Regions from separate parts of the Homo sapiens genome. Here region 2 is linked to region 1. The links are contacts of gene promoters, found by promoter capture Hi-C in human tissues and cell types (Jung and others, 2019). All regions are on one chromosome and are shown on one strand. The core of a region is centred on a gene start or on the middle of the fragment in contact, and the rest is flanking DNA. Distances in the headings are between cores, read along the strand shown.

What was found. Contacts are between HindIII fragments. The study calls those that stand out against the background at their distance.
Region 2: a fragment that was not itself captured here is called in contact with the fragment with the promoter of PGF in region 1 in 4 of the 25 tissues and cell types used here (adrenal gland, bladder, lymphoblastoid cells and 1 more).

The regions. Positions count from the first base shown.
Region 1 is chr14:74,953,142-74,957,280 of GRCh38, reverse strand. It overlaps PGF (placental growth factor), which reads left to right and starts at 1,684. Exons shown (of 7, transcript NM_002632.6): 1 at 1,684-2,113; 2 at 3,335-3,377. The coding sequence starts at 2,039. RefSeq lists silencers at 1,538-1,637, 1,818-1,887. The HindIII fragment of the contact is 10,779 bases long and covers 1-4,139 here.
Region 2 is chr14:74,843,365-74,847,448 of GRCh38, reverse strand. No RefSeq gene overlaps it. Among named protein-coding and RNA genes, the nearest start is that of PROX2, 31 kb to the left of the region's middle. The HindIII fragment of the contact is 4,035 bases long and covers 115-4,084 here.

The sequences.
Region 1 (4,139 bases), core at 435-2,934:
ACAAATCCATACCCAAACTAAAGACACACACAAACACGTGTATGTATACAAAGATGTTATGGGCAACATATACAATACATATATGCACAAACACACACCTACTCACCCTCACACACATGCACAGTGACCCTCCACAATGATTCTGGGCCCAGGAAGCAGTTTGTCTACCCCACGAACCCCAGCTTGTTTGAAGCTCGTCAGGATGTTCCTTGCAGACCCCGCTTAGCCAGCTGGTGACTGGCCCCCGCCTCCTGAACCTCCAGGCTTAGGGCCGGCCAGGCAGGCAGGCTGCATCTCTGGCAGCCCCTCGTGGGTGGGCAGGCAGGCAGGCAGTGGACGCAGAGGTCACTGGGGTGAGAGCTGGGGCTGCCCTGGCCTCCCTGCTCTTGGCTGGAATGTGAGCTGTAGGGGCCACTTCCCAGGCCTCGCTCCTCCCCCACAGCCACCCACCAGCCCCAGGCCCAGCCAACTCGTGACTCCCAGTCCTGCCAGGTTCCTGCAGCCTGGGAGCTGGACACAGAAGGCAGTGAGAGGAGTGGTGGTAAAGAAAGATCCAGAACCAAGGGAGGGCACACACAAACGCAGAGAGAGAGGCACAGTCTTCACCCACAGAGACAGACACACACACGCAGAGACAGGCAGGCGTGCAGACTCACAGTCCCACCGAAAGATACACATTCAGACACTTCCAAACACACCCAGATACACAGCGGACACGAACAGATCACACAAGCATACAGAGATACAGAGAGACCTGACCCCCACACAGAGGCGTATTTGGAGGTACAGTAGTCACACGTACTCAGACCACACAGAGGCTCAGATGCACCGCTCATGGATATTCACAGACCCGCAAATGCCCATGCACACGCGCAGATGCACACAGACCCCCGCGCAGCGTACAGTTCCTCCTCGGCCAGGGACCAGGAGGAGATGCCTGAGTGAGACCACTCTCTACCACAGGGGGCTGCCCCGCAGGGAGGGCCTGGGAAGACTGCTTCCCAAGGAGGCAACAGGCCTGATCCTCCAGCCAGGTGCCCTGAGAGGTTTCCTGTGGGAGGCCCACTGTGTCCGTGCCTGGCTAGGAGGGTGGTAGGTCGGGTTAGAGTTCTGGAGTCACGTAGGCTTGGGTTTTGTCTCTGCCAGTTCCTCGGACACACAGATGCGCGCACACACACAACACACACACACTTTCCAAGAATGCCTATGTCCATTCGACATATGCAGGCAGGGGTGCTCTCGGAGCCTCGGTTTCTTCATCTATATAACCTGGCTAGGAATCCCTTGGCCCCCTAGGGGTGTGGGCATGGCTGCCTTCCCAGGCATCCCGGACGGCCCTTCCTGCAGAGGCGGTTAGATCATGAGCCTTGACGGCTGACGCTGGACTCCTGGATGCCCCCATCCCAGGTGACCGCCCTGAGAGCCGAAGCAGGGCTGTGGGCCCTGTGGGCGGGCGCGGCGCGGCCCGGGGAGCTGCGGGCTGGGCTCGGCGAGGCGTCTGGACCTGCCGAGAGCCCCTCGCACGCACTGCGGGCTCCGGCGCTGCGGGCTGGCCGGGCGCTGCGGGCTGACCGGGCGCTCCGGGAACTCGGCTCGGGAACCTCGTCTGCGGTGGGCGGGGCCGGCCCGGAGCCCCGCCCCGGCTCAGTCCCTGAAACCCAGGCGCGGACCGGCTGCAGTCTCAGAAGGGAGCTGCTGTCTGCGGAGGAAACTGCATCGACGGACGGCCGCCCAGCTACGGGAGGACCTGGAGTGGCACTGGGCGCCCGACGGACCATCCCCGGGACCCGCCTGCCCCTCGGCGCCCCGCCCCGCCGGGCCGCTCCCCGTCGGGTTCCCCAGCCACAGCCTTACCTACGGGCTCCTGACTCCGCAAGGCTTCCAGAAGATGCTCGAACCACCGGCCGGGGCCTCGGGGCAGCAGTGAGGGAGGCGTCCAGCCCCCCACTCAGCTCTTCTCCTCCTGTGCCAGGGGCTCCCCGGGGGATGAGCATGGTGGTTTTCCCTCGGAGCCCCCTGGCTCGGGACGTCTGAGAAGATGCCGGTCATGAGGCTGTTCCCTTGCTTCCTGCAGCTCCTGGCCGGGCTGGCGCTGCCTGCTGTGCCCCCCCAGGTAAGAGCTACCCCCACCTAGCCTGGCTCCCCAGACCTCCCCATCCCAGCACTGGAAGCATGGGACTCTGAAATCACAGACCCACTCCAGGGAGCAGCAACTCCAAGGATGTCCACACACTTCCTAAAGGCCAGGCTGGACTTCTTTCGTTTGGGAAGAGACCTCAGGCTGGCTGTCCCCCAGGTCCTGGGGGCTGTCTTGGTGGGGGCAGGGAAGCCACAGGGAGGGAGGGAGGGAGGGAGGTTTCCTGTCTGGCCCCTGGAGCCCTGGTGGCTTTGCTAAAAGCATCTGTCCACTAATCCCAGGCGGGTCCCTGGCCTTGTGGTCAGGGTCGAGGCCCCATGGCCAACCAGGCGTCCCCAGGACCTCTGACCTGGCCTGGTGGGGGTGGCGGAGGAGCCAGCTGAAGAAGCTGTTGGTGGGGAGGCTGGCCCTGCCCCCACCAGGGCTCAGGACTGAGCCGTGGGCTCCTGGGTGGGCTGGGGACGAGACAAGGGGTCTCGCTGTGCCTTTTCTCCTGGGTGGGTGGCCGGAGGTCCTGAGTGCAGGGCCTGGGGAAGTGAGCAGGGCCCTTTTCCCAGGAGCCGGGTGAGTCTGGCTGGGAGCCAGCTTGGGCAGTGAAATCCTGACAAAGCCAATGAACTGCCTTCCCACTGCGTTGTCCCACTGCCCTGGGAGTCCCCAGCCCCAGCCCAAGAGTAGGAGTGGGCTGGGCAGTCCCTGAGGAGTCCGAGCAGCCCAGCCACCCGCCTGCCTGCTGCAGGGCTGGCCAGAGGTGTAACGTTACCGGCTGCACCAGCTCATGGCGCCACCCGCTCCAGCCCCTCAGCTCCCACCAGCTGATCACCTCCCCCTGGGCTCTGGCACCCAGCCAAGGCGGGCTGTGCAGGGCCCAGCAGGGTTGGCCTGGGGGCTGGGTAGAAGGCAGACCCGCAGGATTGGAAGATCTTTGGGATGCAGCAGGCCAAGGGTCTCCAAAAGCTTCTAGCCTCCCATCCTTTTCCAAATGAGGAAAACTGAGGCCAGAGAGGGGTGGGACCTAACCTACCCAGGGTCCAGTGAGTTTTTAGTGGTACTCAGGCTGCTCTGAGACAGGGCAGAGCATGTGCAGCAAGTGGGAAGGAACCCAGAGGGGCCCCTACCTTCTTGCCATCACACTTGGCCCAAGAGTGCAGAGCTCCAAGGTACCCCCAGCTCACCTCTGCACTTTTCTGTCCATAGCAGTGGGCCTTGTCTGCTGGGAACGGCTCGTCAGAGGTGGAAGGTAAGCTGGCCAGGCTGGGGGTACGCATGCTCCCCAAGCCCCTCTCTTCCTTTCTCCCAAGCCCAGGTGTGGCATGAAGCGTGGGTGCAGGTTGATAAAAGCTGGGGAGAGCCTACAAGCTAGACATGCTGGGTGATGACTTTGGCAGGGCCTAAGAGATCCCCTCATGGTGACCCAGAGACTAGAGAGGTGTGGGCTGGAGTCACCAGCACACGGAGAGTGGGGCTGGGGCCAGTATAGCCAGGGTTCATCCAGCTGGCTCAGAGCCCTTCCCCAGCATGATTTAAGGGTATGGATGGGGTCTTGGAGGACAGGGTGGGGAGTGAGTGCCAGGGGCCAGAATGGGGGTCTGGGAGCTGAATGCAGTGGGCAGTCAAGAGGATCAGGAATGGGTGAGGGGCCCTCCCCAGCAGCCCAGCCCTGGTGGAACTGCCGGGATCTGACCATGCGTTTCCATTGATTATAAACAGACAGAACATAGTCGCGCCCTCCCTGGCCCCTCCACTCCCCGCCCTGGTTGCATCAAGAGGGAGTCTTCAAAGGGCAACGAGACGTTTGCCAAAGAGACATATGTACAGAAGGCAGGAGGCCCATGCCAGGCCCCCTACCTCGCTCCTCCCTCCCTGCCTCTCCAAGACGTGCAAAGTGGCCACACACCACCGCTGAGGTTTCCCCTGCGCCATGGGAGAGTGGGCATGTAGGGACATGCACACGCACACGCGTGATAGCCATCTGCGTGCTGGGAACACCCTCTGCTGGGCT
Region 2 (4,084 bases), core at 883-3,382, 110 kb after region 1:
AGATCAGCAACAGATTCTTATGCTCTGGGGCATATACTTCTCATTTTACTCCCTTCAAATAAAGCAAGTGGCCATGCTTGAACTACTCAAAAGCGTAGTTACTGAGAAAAGCACCAATATTGATGATCTCATGAAAAAAAAAAAACTAAAAAGCCACTTTATGTTGCAAAAGCTATGCTACTTACCCCCTCAAAGCAGCAGTCCCCAACAATATAAAGTCCTGAATTTAAGTCATGATGGGACTACAAGCAAAGTGACTCATTCTATACTCATTCTCTTAACAGTTCTTCACATTCCCACATGGAGTTCTGAATCTTGATTATGGTGGTGGTGATTACATGAAGCTACATGAGATAAAATTGCACAGAACCAAACACACACAAATACATGAAGTTACATTAGATAAAACTGCACAGAACCAAACACACACATACACATGAGTGCTTGTAAAACTGGTAAAATCTGAATAAGCTCTGTGGAGTGTATCAACATTAACTTCTTGGCTTTTAAAAGTTTTGACACACACTTCTCATTGTATAAGATGTTACCATTGGGGATGGCTGGTTGAAGAATACACCAGGACTTCTCTGTACATTTTTTTCTACAACTTCCTATGAATCTGTAACTATTTCAAAATAAAAATTTAAAAAACAATGAGAAATCAGAATCTTTGGGGAAAAGTTCTAATGAAGGAGTCACGTACTCTAAAGAAGACGCAAAACAGTCCATACCACCATAGAATGCATTTATAAGGACGCTTATGCCACAAATAGAGATTATCTTAGGTATCAAAGCAGATTAATTTAAAGAGATCATTCTAGCTTATTGAAAATAGCAATTCTCATTTTCTTGAGGTTTGTTCCATTTTGTATGTGATAACTGGAACTATGAACTAGTTCTCCTCTTAAAATCAGAAAGGACAAACCACAGAAAAATAATTTGTTCTGCCTGCCCACTGCACTTCTCTTCTCCCATCTACAACCTCCTCCACAAACCAAATTTCTCCTCTAAGCTTTCAAGTTTAAATAACATTGGACCACAACTCATGTCTGTCTATCGTGAGGAAACTTCACAACTGCAAAGGCCTAGGCTTGTTTCCAGGCCCACGGGCAAACATATGTTTTAGATTAAAAGGCATTTTAAATCTTGGCTTTATTTGCTCCCAAGAAGCCAGACTGTCCCTGTGCCTAAGCTGTTTCTTGGCTATCAAGCACCTTTGGAAACCGCATTAACTCTTTCAGCCTAGGTGGATTTTCTTTTGCACATTTAAAGAGTTTCATTAACAAGTATCCTTCCAACAACTGTATCTTCCACACCTGCAAAGTTAACCAACAGACCAGGGCCTTCGAAAGTTTTGCTTAATGAACCTATCATCAGCTAGAGATGAAATAAAATTTAAAATCCCCTTTACCCCACCAGTTCTCAAAGTTGGCTGCATATTAGAATGACCTGGTGGCCTTTTAAAAAATTACCAAGGCCTGGGTCCCACTCCTAGATTCTGATTTAATTGCTATGAGGTGTAGCCTGAGCTTTGGGAGTTTTAAAAGCTCCCCAGGTCAAAACCACCACTTGAGTGCACAACTCTTCACACTTTTCATATTTTATCATTCTTCCAAAAATGCATACATACAGAAAGGAGTAATCATCTATTCGAGTGTTTATGGAATCTAAGCAATCATTCCACCAGAACCTTACCAATCCAGGGGTTAAGGCCTCCAATGTCAGTCAATAGCCTTCCCTCTGGCCCCTGAAAATAAACACTGGGAATGCTGCCTTTCAGGTCTAGTAGAGGCCCTGCCAATGCACTCAGTTTCATATCTAGTGAATACAGAAGGCTCAGGTGAGAAACAGAAAATCCTCAAAGTATGTTCTTTTAATAAAAGCTTTACTACCTAAACAAATAAACTAGATCCTATTAAGAAAAGTGGGTGTTCCAGACTTCATTTTTTTTTTTGAAAATACAAAAACTGTATTTTCCGGGATCATTCAAACTTGTATGAAAAGAAGAGGTATGATGTAAGAAAATATTTTCACAGCACCTCTGGATCCAAGTTGTCATAATTCCAAAGGGAGCAGAGAATGACTTGGAAAAAAGAACTTCATGATTAAAGATTATTTCCTCAATTGACATTTTACCTTCCCCAAGATTGAAACAGCACCTATTCCAAAAGCAAACTGGTTATGAACTATCACTACCACTTAGAACCTATTTTGCTTATCCATATCAATTCCAAATCTAGATTCAAAAGGCAGAATTCAAATGAGTACAGCATATAAAACTGGAATTTTAAAATGAGAAAAAAAATTTTGAAACCCCCAATATTAAATTAAGACTGTTTCTAAAACACACATGTAGATAATTATTAGGAGAAAATAAAAAGAGAAATGGTTTCCCTGTAGCCCAGTAATTCAATTCTTCTGTATCTTCCCCAGGGAAGATTTTTGAAAATAAGCCTGCAAAAGGCATTTACAAGGATGTTCAATGCAACACTGGTATGACAGTGAAAAACTCACAAAAAAAGGAAAAAGTAAGCCATTATACACATATCATGGAATATACACAAACATGAATGCATGTATTTATATCTACCTATATATATATTTACCTATATATACATATATACATGCATGTGTGTATCCAAGACATAGTAGGTCTGCAGAACAGTATGTAAAGAATATCAGTCATGTAAAAAACAGTAAAACTGTATTTTTATAGGCAAGTACATATGTATACAAATACACACAAAAAGGTTTGGAAAAGCCACACTCCAAAATAATAGTAATTACCTCTAAGATTCAAGGTATTTGTGCTTAAGGGGGAGGGGGGAGTGTTGAGCTTTATCTGTAATATTTTATTTTTTTAATAATGAAAATGAATTCACATCTTCTGGATAGAATATATGAATTTGAAAAAGACGATGCCCAGAAACACTTCAATAAATTAAACATAATTATACCCACCTTGACTGTGACAGGTCCCAACAAAGCTTTAATGACACACATCCTCTTTCCTCAGTGGAAACAGCAGAAAGCAGTGGAGGGTTTAGAGCAGAAAATTCGGATCAAATTTGCATCCAGGTATAGTGGCCATTCAACTGCTCCACTTAACCAAAGGGAATTCTCACTGTCTTCTTTTCCTGGGATAGATGTGTGCCCACTATTTAACTGTATATACACAAGGTGCTTACCTGCAACTTGAGAAATGGAGGTACTGGAAGGATGTCACTCAAAAGGGGTAGCGGGGAGACAATATTCATGCTTCCATGTGAAAGCCAACAATGGACAAAAATCAACCCACCGCAAATTCAGCATCAGTATATTACATATGTATTGCCACTTCGCTCAATGAAGACAGAAATGCTTTTCCAAAATACTAGTAAAAAGGTGCTGCTCAAAATATTTATATGTAATAAAACCTGATGTTTCCTTTCTTACAAATATCTTCTTTGCCATAACTGTCTTTCAGACTTGTCATCATCCTTTAGAGCATGTCAGAAAAGTCCCAAAATGACAGCCTATTGGTAACATGTGGCTTCCAGATGTGATTTGTTTCTACTGTGACTATTTCACATAAAAATGCAGACTTCCACTTTATCTTCATCTAGTAACATTGGGTCTGTCTTTCTTCATTCCAACCACTGGCTGGAGAATTGTCCCCTGAGACAGGACAAGCACTCTGCACCATCCCAGCCTCCACCATACCCTACTGCTTCCTGAACCCTGAGGCTGAGAGGGCCAAGTACCCTGTTTTATTCTGCTTCTGCTGTTGTTTTTCTCACAGTAAAGAAAAAATAATACTGTACTTATGTCTCTACCAAAGGTGGGAAAACTAAGAGAGTGCCAAAAGTTTTGAGAATGAGAAACAGGGTATTTTTCTATAAGAGTGAAGAATATTCCCACATGTCTAATCTGCAAACAAAGTAAGTTTCTGTTGAAAGAATAAAACTAAATATATTATGAAATTACTGGCCAATTCTCTCATTTACACTTATCTTCCTGTCCTTTGAAGGCATTTGAATGTGCTACGCCTTAAGTATTGATATGCCACCAGCTGGAAGATACAGAGGTAGGGAAAAAGCAAACA